2 separate regions of the Homo sapiens genome follow, and region 1 is linked to region 2. Evidence: promoter capture Hi-C in human tissues and cell types (Jung and others, 2019). All regions are on one chromosome and are shown on one strand. The core of a region is centred on a gene start or on the middle of the fragment in contact, and the rest is flanking DNA. Distances in the headings are between cores, read along the strand shown. Region 1 overlaps SNX10 (sorting nexin 10). Region 2 holds the start of SNX10 (sorting nexin 10).

Region 1 (5,670 bases), core at 543-3,042, 67 kb after region 2:
TTTTCAGAAGGAAAGCAACATCATCAGATACGTGTTTTGGAGCCATTCTTGTCTTCATGTGGGGAATGCACTGGATATGGGCCCCGAAATAAATTAGCAGTTCTTGCATTAATGTTGGGCAAGAGGTCCTTGAACCAAGGCAGTAGCAGAGGGAATAGTTGTCAGTGGTTCCAAGGAGAATGACTATGAAGGACTTGGTCTGTGTGGATTTGGGGAATGAGTCAAACAGAGGGGTCTAGGAGAACTGGGTTTCTAGCTGGGGTTGGTGGGAGATGCTCTTCACTGAGAAGGGGAGCAGGATGCTGTGGGAAGGGTATGGACATGGCGTGCTCAAGGGACTTCTAGGTGGATCAGGCTAGAGGCTGGATCCATGGGAGAGGTGCCTGCACTGGGATGGAGCTTTGGGTGGGGTCCATCAGCTCATGGGAGGGGGTTGAATGTGTTTGGATGAGGTCACCCTAGAATTGCAATAGTGTGCAAAGAACAACAGCCTGGGTTGGCTCTCAGGCACAGAAACGTTTCAGGATGCAGAGAGGGAAGAAGTTTGCCATCCACAAGAGAATAGTGATATTTAGCACTCCAACCAAATTAAAGATTTTCAGGATTGAAACAATATGTGGAGTCTTAGTGCTGCAATGAATTTTGAGTGTGCATTTAAAAGTTTAAGAGACACACACACATACACGGTGACAAGAGATGGAGGTGAAAAGCATAGGCCAAGAGCAGAGTACCTGGATTTTTGCTTCTGTTTCCATCCCTGGGCAGAATCTGCTTTATCACACTGTGATTAGGGGATATTATGGATATTTGGTTTAAAAATGGTTTTTAAATCCCTCTTATAATTTAGAATGTGCTTTTAAGAAATGATGGTTGTCTCTTAATGCGCATGAAAAAAATAAAGAAATAGAGAAGAAGAAATACTGGCTGGGGCACAGTGGCTCATGCCTATAATCCCAGCACTTTGGGAGGCTGAGGCAGGGGTGTTGCTTGAGCCTAGGAGTTCAGAATCAGCCTGGGCAACATAGCAAGACCCCATCTCTAAAAAAATTAAAAAATTAGCTGGGCATGGTGGCACCCGCCTGTAGTCCAGCTACTGGGGGCGGGGTTGGCTAAGGTAGGAGGATCATTTTAGCCCTGGAGTTTGAGGCTGCAGTGAGCTGAGATCGTACCACTGCACTCCAGTCTGGGTGACAGAGTGAGACCCTATCTCAAAAAACAGAAAAAAGAAAAGAAATAATGGCCAAAGAGCATCACTATAGTGTTATCTTGTGTTTTTTTTTTTTTTTTTTTGACCAAGTCTTGCTGTTGTTGGCCCGGGCTGGAGTGCATTTAGTGGCGTGATCTTGCTGCAACCTCCGCCTCCTGGGTTCCAGCAATTTTCCTGCCTCAGCCTCCTGAGTAGCTGAGATTACAGGCGCCCAACACCATGCCCAGCTAATTTTTGTATTTTTAGTAGAGATGGGGTTTCACTATGTTGGCCAGGCTGGTCTCGAACACCCGACCTCTGGTGATCCACCCGCCTCAGCCTCCCAAAGTGCTGGGATTACAGGTGTGAGCCCTGCCTATCTTGTTCTTATTCTATCCCCTAAATGATTTTAAAAATACACAATGAAAATATTTTAAAAGAAGACTTTTTGGAACAGTAATTCATAATCCCTGTCTACTAAAGACAAGTAGTGGGACAGAAGTCTCCAGTGCAAGGACAAAGTGTTGCCCTAGAAGGTGAAACTTGATAGGGGCAAAAGTTATTTTCAGAGTGTGGTGTATTTTTTTGATTAAAAAAAATCCTCTATGATGAAGAGTCTCATTTAATTATCTGCATGATTCAATGGAGGTGCTTTGTCCAGAAAGCCCCCGATCTCTCTTTTTCTTCTGCTCTCAAGCGTTCATAGCCTGCCTCTCAGATGTGCCCCAACAAGCAATAAGAAATGCCTGAATTCCAGCATTGAACTCCCAATCTTATCAAAAAGCTCTAATATTTAAAATCAAACTCAGTTAGCAAGTTTATGATCACTGAGTAAATAAGTTATACTTAAAAACTTATGTGAAACATGATAGTTTTTTGCTGTACATTTTCAAATTTTTAAACTAAACCTATTTAGTAAAGAGCACCTGTTAAAAAGTATTGTTTTAATTTTTTTTTTTTTTGAGACGGAGACTTGCTCTGTCGCCAGGCTGGAGTGCAGTGATGCGATCTCGGCTCACTGCAACCACCGCTTCCTGAGTTAAAGCGATTCTCCTGCCTCACAAGTAGCTGGGACTACAGGCACACGCCACCACGCCCAGCTGATTTTTGTAGTTTTAGTAGAGACAGTGTTTCACCATGTTGGCCAGGATGGGCTCAATCTCTTGACCTTGTGATCTGCCCGCCTCGGCCTCCCAAAGTGCTGGGATTACAGGCGTAAGCCACTGCGCCCGGCCTATTGTTTTAAATTTTGCCCCATGTTTTCTATTCTTATTATCTTTATAAAAGAACAAAATTATCTACTGTATATGATTTTTAATATCCCTAACTTCTATGTATAACACAAAGGTATTATGAAGATGAAATGATTTAATGTAGGGGAAATGTATTTTAAAAATAGAAAAGTATTATGTAAAAGAAGGTGTTCCTCTTTCTATTAATAAGTTATTATCGCTTATTCTCATGTGGCTGGGATGCATGCACAAAGTCAACTTCAACCCTCTTTGCTTACTTTTCCCATGAGCTTTGGTGTCCTTTCTTTTTCTTCTTTTGATACAGGGTCTCGCTCTTTTGCCCAGGCTGGAGTGCAGTGGCACAATCAAGGCTCACTGTAGCCTTGACCTCCTGGGCTCAAGTGATCCACCCTCCTCAGCCTCCTGAGTAGCTGGGACTACAGGCATGCACCACACTGCGCCTGGCTAATTTTGTATTTTTTGTAGAGATGGGGTTTCACCATGTTGCCTAGGCTGGTCTCAAACTCCTGGGCTCAAGAGATCCTTCCAAAGTGCTGGGATTACAGGTGTGAGCCACCCTGCTTGGCCTGGTGCCTTTCTTATTTGTGTCCTAGGAAGCACCTTACCCAGAAGGGCCCATTGTTTCAGTTTAGAGAGATGAAGAAAGTAAGAAATGATCACTTTTTAAATTTGAAAAAAACCTGAACCAATTATTTAAGATTAAAAATTAAAAATCAGTTTTACAGTATACTTTGTCTTCAGATAACCAGTAAAACTATCCAGAAGTGCTCCCACCTCAGTGTTGCATTATTTTAAAAATTCCATTATGTGGCAAAAGTGTGTTCTAGATTTGCTCGTGGTGCCTGATTCATTAACTTTACTTCTTGTTTTTTAAAGGATTACAAGTACCACATTGGTTAAAGCTCATTTCAGTTTTGTTTTAGTGCAGTCGTTTTGTTCAGTTCTTTCCAGTCCTACTTGCAGTTCTGAAGAATATTTCTTTGTTTATGATGCCATTACAGGAATTTGTAAGTGTCTGGGTTCGAGATCCTAGGATTCAGAAGGAGGACTTCTGGCATTCTTACATTGACTATGAGATATGTATTCATGTAAGTATGTAGTCAGTAGAAATAGTAATTTTGAGGGACTTTTATGGGATACATTTTATGGGATAAAGTTGACACTTGTAAAAGTTTTTCTCATTCAAATAACTGAATTTGAATGATTACAACTAATGCTTTTATCTTACATGAACTAGTAAGATGGTTCCTAAAGTTGAAAAATTACTTATTTGAATCCCTTATTGTTCCTTTGTTAATATTAACATTTTAATGTTTATTGCCTTCACATGTGAAGATGTGCACGCATCTAAAATGCATGGGTAAAGAGTACTTATAGCTCATTAATGGCATTTCTTATGATCTGCTATAGCATATTTCTGGATAATATAATGCCTGATAACCTTCAAGTTTGAGAGGATATAGAGTTCTTTGGAAAAGAGATGTGTGGTGTTTTATATATAGAATCAGAAGGTGGGAAATGGATATGTGCAATTATTGTGATTAATTTATCTAGAATCTGAGTAATTAATGTAACGAGTAAGCAACTAGAAATGATGTGCCTTGCGTGGATGCTACTGTATCACAATCTCTTGAAAATGTTGTGTGGTGTGTGGCCTTCTGTGACCATCTTAAACAAGGGTAAGCAAACTTCTCTGTAAAGGTAGTAAATATCTTCAGTTTGTGGGCCATACAGTTTCTGTCGAGACTACTCATTTCTGCTGTTGCAGGTGAAAAGCAGCCACAGACAGTGCATAAATGAATGAGCATAATTGTATTCCAATAAAACTTTATGTGCAAAGACAGGTGTCAGACCAGATTTGGCCCTCAGGCTGTAGTTTATTGGCCCCGATTTTGAGGATAATACTCTTTGCATCTAAACCAGATGCATATCAGATGCAAACTAAATTAGTTCAACTGGGGAGCATAGCAATTGACCCAGATTGTATCCGTGACTTCATAGCACAAGTGAAGTAAAATTTAGCCATTATTTAATCTTCCCATTGTAAATAGCTAACTTGGTATATTGGACACCCAAACACCAGCTGTAGAACTTTTCTTTTTTTAAATTCTCCTTTCTTCTCTTTTTTCTTTGAAGTTTCCCCAACTTTGAAAATAAAAGAAAAACTCAGAACTGCTTTTTTGATTGTGTTGTAAAGCCATTCCAGGATATGCCATGTATTTTGATTCTGTTTTGGTTTTACTTATAAGCTCACACTAGAGTTGCATTCTGTGTGGAAAATTATGACTATATAAGAATAAGCATTTGAAGTAAAATGAAATAGTTTTAGTTGCCTTCTAACTTTCTGTAAAAAAATTGTGCGTCCTTATCACACACTTCATGATAGGCATGAAATTTAATTATTCCCAGGAATTAATGAAAGTATAGATTCTGCTCTGCTCTATAAATAGCCTGATGTAAATTCAGAAATCTCCATCTGGAGCCAGAAATGATGGGTTCCACAAATACTATTTGATGGTGTCCTGGCACTTTTCTGAAATGCTAATAAATTGACAATGGATAAGCCTTGGCTTGGTGGACAGCAAAAACAAGCAAATAGATTTATTAGAGGAACTTAATCAGTTAGTGATCTCAGTATCCTCTAATCTTGAAGAGACTTCCACCTGTCATACAATTAAAAGTGGATGGCAGAGCTAGGGAGTTCTGGTTGGCTTCTCTTAGTTGTTAACCCATAGAGCTTTGGAGGTAGAGAAGCTGGTCTTTAACTTGTTTAAATTAACCTCAAGGGAGATGATGTCACACAACTCTGGGATCTTAACATTTACTTGGAATTTTAAATTAGTAGACCCTAGAGCTGGGTAGCCATCATAAATACTCCCCTGAACCTGCCCTGCAAATGAAGGACTTATGGATCGACCTTAGTCTGGTGTAGGTACCAGGTGGATTTTTAGTTATTGACAACCATGGTGGTTGTGAGCAGAGAAATTAAAGGGAATTTAAATGGACCCAGCCTGTGTGTGAGATGTCAGGAATCCCTGTGGTGGTCTGGGATTCTTTAGGGAGAGGGTACCGGGAAGATAACCTGCTCAAGCCTTGTTAGGGGACTAGTTCTGGTATAACATGGTCTGCAAACCTAGTCCCCAAGGAGCACAGTAGAGTGAGGCCCTGGTGTGTTATAAGTCCACCCACAGGATGTTATTTGCCACAAACTCCTTCCAGCGGGTTTTGCTG
Region 2 (5,829 bases), core at 214-2,713:
ATTTTTTGTATTTTTAGTAGAGACGGGGTTTCACCGTTTTAGCCGGGATGGTCTCGATCTCCTGACCTCGTGATCCGCCCGCCTCGGCCTCCCAAAGTGCTGGGATTACAGGCGTGAGCCACCGCGCCCGGCCCAAGTTACCAGTCTTAATAGGGTCAAAATTCTAACAGATATTCAAATGACTTTCAGTAGACTCTCCAAGGGTTTGTTGCTGCTTTGTCTACAGCTGTAAAGTCATGCTCTTGACAATAAGTTCAGAAAGATTTTAATTTTACAGAATCTCTTAGGATCTTAGATACATGCTGCATTTTGTTTTCTACTCAATGTTTTTCTTTGCGGAGCATAGGGACAAGAATATAAAAAATACACTTTAATTTGATTTTCTTTCTTTTTTTTTTGAGACAGAATCTTGCTCTGTCGCCCAGGCTGGAGTGCAATGGCATGATCTCGGCTCACTGCAACCTCTGCCTCCCGGGTTCAAGCTATTCTCCTGCCTCAGCCTCCCGAGTAGCTGGGATTACAGGCGCGCGCCACCACGCCCAGCTAAGTTTTTGTATTTTTAGTAGAGACGGCATTTCACCATGTCAGCCAGGATGGTCTCCATCTCCTGACCTTGTAATCCACCCGCCTCGGCCTCCCAGAGTGCTGGGATTACAAGCGTGAGCCACCACACCAGCTTAATTTGATTTTCAAAAGTGATCATGGTTGCATTCACTTGTGTGTCATGACTTGGGTGCAATTTTAGGAAATTAAATACCAGTGATTGAGGGTTCAGCAATACAACTTCAAGATCCAAGATGTTAAGACACAACATTGTATATTTATACGTTTTGTTAGGGAGTTAATGTAGGTGTGGTGAACAGATGCGTTTTCAGGTGGGCCTGGAATGGTCCCTGGAGGATGATCAGCGACAAGCTGTATCTAATGGGAAAATTCATGCTTGAAAAATGAAATATTAGGCTATGCTTATTATTCTGTGTCATTCAGTCACTTATTAGCAGTTTAAGTGATGATTGTGGTTTCCCATGCAAACAGGTGTGGGGACCCAGCCTCAGGTGCCATTTGGGAAATGCTTTCCTCAGTCAGGTCCCTTGGCAGATCTCATTAGCTTTCCCCCCAAATGTTTTATTGAGACATTTCAAACATAGACAAAAACTGAAATAATTTTATATAAACACCATAGCCCACCACCTAGATGCTATGAACATTCTGCCATTCTTGTTTATCACGTTATTTATCCGTCCTCCTCCCCATCGGCAATCCTCCCCATAACTGTGGGGTCAGGGTTAGGAAGCTTAAGGTGACTCAGGTGGCGAATTCCGAAGGGTGCCGCTGGAGCACCTCCAGCCTCAACGTCCGGACTAATGGGGGCATTTCCTCCCTAACTCAATTTCAGGAAGCAGGAGGCTAGCTCTGCAGGGTGGGGGCGCACCTGGGCTGGGCTGCGCGGAGGCGGCGGAAGCACTAGGCGCGGCGCCCACAGGCGGACGGCTGGCGCTGAGCGCGGGCGCGGGGCCGCTACGTGCGCGGGGAGCGCGGGGAGCGCGGGGAGCGCGGGGCTGCGCTCGTGTGCGCTCCTGGGCGCTCGCCGCCGCCGCTGCCGCCGCGCGCCTTTGAGTCAGCAAACTCCGCGGCCCGCAAGCCCGGCTCGGCCCGGCCCTGCTCTGTTCTGCCCGGAGGAGCCGCCCGTAAGTGACAAGAGACCCGCTGAGGGGGCCTCCCCTGCACCGCCCAGGTGGGGACGGCGGCCCTTCTTTCCAGAGGCGCGGGCCCTTCCCGCTGTTCCCAGGTGCCCGCACCCTTGCGGGCTGGAAAGAGGTTTGGGTCCCTTGGGCTTGGAGCAGAGGAGCCGCCTCCTTTTCAGCCGAGGTGTGCCGGGCAGGGAGAAATGATCAGCGCGGTAGAGCGGGGAGATGGAGCGCGTCGATCCAGGGATTCTTGGCTAAAAAGACACCCCGGGGAGAGGGTGGGGCAGAGGTGGATTCTAGATTACGGAAGAAGTGCTGTGGCACCTTACACCAGGCCGGGTAGAAGGGGGTGGGGAGGTGGTTTTTAAAATTTATTTATTTATTTTTTTATTCATTCATTAACGGGTAGCCTTGAGTTGAGGAATTGGGAGGGGTAGGCAGGTTTATTCGTGGGATTGTGGGATTGAGGGAGAAGGCCCAGGGGAAAATCCATATAATTGACTGATTATCAGATTTGGTGACCAGGAAAGCAACAGCCTGTTTTTCAGTTCCGATGCATCATACTTTTCTCAAATTACACGGATTATTGAGGGGGATCGTCACGGAATGGGGAGCAACATGTCCTGCTGAAAGGAAGGGCTTCTATCTCTACAAGACACGTTAAAAATGATGGTATCAGAAAATTAGAACGGGGAGGAGGCTTGCACATGATCTCCATCAAACCTTTCATTTTACAGACAGGGAGGCTAAGGCCGAGGGACGCTGAGTGTTGGGACCAGGATCATTCAGCCAGATGGGAGCAGAACCAGGCCTACAACCTGGCAGGCTTCTGACTTCCACCCCGGAGTTATGTCCACCTCTGGGGCCTGGGAACTGGGTTTGGATTGCATAAGCTCCCCCTCCTCTCCCAGGAGGGGGCTGGGCTGGAGGCTGAGGCCTTCGCCAGGAAGAAGCAGGGACTGCTTGGATAGTTGACCAGCTTCTGCAGGGGCTCCTCAGTGAGAGAATGGAGGTGAGGTCAGGGACTCCTGCCTTGCCTCTGCCATCACTTCCAGTGATGCCTATTCCTAAGGTAGGTACATAGCTGGACCTTCATTATTCTTAATATTATTTACTTTTTTCTTTTTCTTTTGAGACAAGGTATTATTCTGTCACCCAGGCTGGATTGCAGTGGTGCGATCTTGGCTCACTGCAAACTCCACCTCCCAGGCTTCAGTGATCCTCCCACCTCAGCCTCCCTAGTAGCTGAGACCACAGGTGCGGGCCACCACACCCCTGGCTAACTTCGGTATTTTTTTTGTAGAGACAGGGTTTTGCCATGTTGCCCCAGGCAGGTCTGGAAGTCCTGAGCTCAAGCAATCCACCTGCCTCGGCCTCCCAAAGTGCTAGGATTACAGGGGTGAGCCACTGCGCTCGGCCTTTTATTACTATTTTTTAAAGGAAGGGTAGACTTGAGATTGACTGATAGGGCAGTTTTTAATAAAAATACAAAAATAAAATACATTTAGAAGAAACTGTGTGAAGATGTGAAATATCAGTGATTAGCATGGACTCAACTGGTCGTCCTGTTTCTTCTACCAGTCCATTTCATTCTCACTTTTGATTACCATTTAACTGGGGAGGACATCAGTGTTGACAGTGGGACTTGCTCAGGCTGACACTGTGCCCCACCAGGGAGTCTCCCCTCCAGGCTGGTACACACTTCCTCTTATTTTACTAATGGGAAGGACCCCTGAGTTAGGTAACCTAAAGTAATAGAAATAAGCACGTTCATTAAAAAAAATAAAAGTATGTTAATCAAAGAGTAACGTTGGTGTTCTACAGCAATTCTGCTGGGCTTTGGAGCAGTGGATATCTTTTCTCAGCCCTAGGATCACTACTTTCATTTTAAGGCTTCATTTTGCTCGTTAAGTTACTGGGGAAAATAACTTCTTTTTTCCGTTTTTAGTGACAGGGCTGTGGTTTCACAACCACTTGGTGAAAGGCAGACAACTGGTTGAGAACAGGGGCCAGTCTATGCAGATTTTCATTTCCTAGCATGGCGGAGAAGGGCTTTTGGCCAAGCTCATGGTTGACTCTGTGGGGAATCCCCCAAATTTAGCATTGTTATCTCCAAACATCTTTTTCTTAGTAATCTGGTAGGTATGAATTAGCTCTTCTGTTCTCTAAGCCCTGTTCAAAGAGGAAGGTATATAGTGTAGTGGTTAGAACTTGTGATTCCAGACCCATCTGAGTTGAAATCTTGGTATAATAATTTTCTAAGTATAGTTTTGTTGGCGGGGCACTTAACACTCTCTGAGTTGCCTGTTATTCAGAAATAAAAAAGGGTGATGGTAATCTTTGCTTCCCAGAACTGTTAATACAACAGCTGACATTTATCGAGTGCTTACTATATTCCAGGCATCGTGACATTATCGAGCACTTAATTATGGGCCAGGCATTGTGAAAGAGTTTTTATGTGGCAGTCTCATTAAGCATCACAACAGACTTATGAAGCAGATTCTGTTACTGTCTTCAGTTTACCTCTGGGGAAACTAAGCCATCAGAGTATTTATGATTTCTCTAAACTCAGCTTACAGTTTTAACTACCCAACAAATGTGTGTCAGATTTCTGTTATAAGCTAATAGTTATCTAGGGCTTACTGTGTGGTAGGCCCTGTTACAAGTGTCCTAAGTACGTTAACAACCCTTGAGATAGGTATTGTTTTTCTCCCCTTCTTCTTTCTTTTTACAGATGTGGAAACTGAGGCACAAAGCCCAAGGTCAAACAACTAGTAATGCGAGAGCCAAAATTTGAACTAGGAGCCTGGGTCTGGAATCAGTAGTAACTCTCAGCCACCCACCTGCGAATGTAAAGGGCTTAGCCAGGCTTCAGTCAAGGGCAACTCCTATTGATACTTACATTTATTTTTCCCTAAGTAACTACTCCTTGCTCCCAGTTTCTGCAGAAGAGATGCTTTTAGTTCTACAAGTGATTCAACTTTACTCAAGGCTTTGTGATTCAGTATGTATTTCTATTGTAGTCTCTGTTATTTTTAAAATCTTGTGCTAGGCCTCAGTGATCTTGCCTCTGGGGACAGGGAAATAGTCTTTATCAGATCTGTGAACCCCTTTCAAATATATGATGTCATTTTTACTTTTTTTTTTGATACTTTTGTAGAGATGGGGTTTTGCCATGTTGCCCAGGCTGGTTTTGAACTCCTGAGCTCAAGTGATCCACCCACCTCAGCCTCCCAAAGTGCTGGGATTACAGGTGTGAGCTACTGTGGCCAGCCTGATTTCATATTCATCTGCAAAAGTGCATTATTCTGGGGGAGAGAATCTGTAGCTTTCTTCAGATTCTTACGTGGTCACCCATGGTGGAAAGAAAGTCATTATTCACCATTTTATTCTAATAATCTCATTTTACAAATGAGGCTACCAAGGCCCAATGGAGAGGCAGAATAACTTAATCTGAACTACACAGCTAATTAGAGGTAAAAACGGGACTCAAACTCAGGTTCCTGAACTTCCAGTCTCATATTCTTTCCATTATAGCCTGATAGTTCCCTGTGGATTAAGTGGTGCCAGATCAATCAATTACGAATTGCCAGAGACCCCCAGCTCTCTCACCAAGCTGTCCAATGCATGAGGCCAGCAAAGCTGCCTGGAAGTGCCTGTCAAAATACGACATCGTTTGGCATGTGATCCTGTTAGCTGAGCCACTTTACTCTGATTTGGTATGGGAATCTACAACTCGGAGAGATGTGAGCCAGGAAAAGAAAAGCTGTTTGGGGAGAAGAAGAGGAATGTTGCAGACATGCATTGGTTGAGGCACAGGCAGCCATTCAGACCTCTTGGTAGAATTGTCGTATTGGAAAGTTTTTGCTAAGAGATTTAGAAATTCAAACAAAATTCCCTGGGCCGGGTGTGGTGGCGCATGCCTGTAGTCCCAGTTACTTAAGAGGCTGAGGTGGGAGGATCGCTTGAGCCCAGGAGGTTGAGGCTGCAGTGAGCTGTGATTGCACCATTGTACTGCAGCCTGCACAACAGAATTAGACTCTGTCTCATAAATAAATAAATAAATACAAATAACCCCCAAATTCCCTGAAGTCTGAGATTTTTGCATAGTATGTGGCTCACTGGGAAGTAAGCCATCTCC

The links. Contacts are between HindIII fragments. The study calls those that stand out against the background at their distance.
Region 1: a contact is called between a fragment that was not itself captured here and the fragment with the promoter of SNX10 in region 2, in 4 of the 25 tissues and cell types used here (hippocampus, pancreas, spleen and 1 more).

The regions. Positions count from the first base shown.
Region 1 is chr7:26,357,535-26,363,204 of GRCh38, forward strand. SNX10 (sorting nexin 10) reads left to right here. Exons shown (of 7, transcript NM_013322.3): 3 at 3,441-3,527. Among named protein-coding and RNA genes, the nearest start is that of LINC02981, 38 kb to the right of the region's middle. The HindIII fragment of the contact is 9,864 bases long and covers 1-5,670 here.
Region 2 is chr7:26,290,399-26,296,227 of GRCh38, forward strand. It overlaps SNX10 (sorting nexin 10), which reads left to right and starts at 1,464. Exons shown (of 7, transcript NM_013322.3): 1 at 1,464-1,688. RefSeq lists silencers at 1,488-1,727, 1,878-1,957 and an enhancer at 3,449-3,498. The HindIII fragment of the contact is 12,028 bases long and covers 1-5,829 here.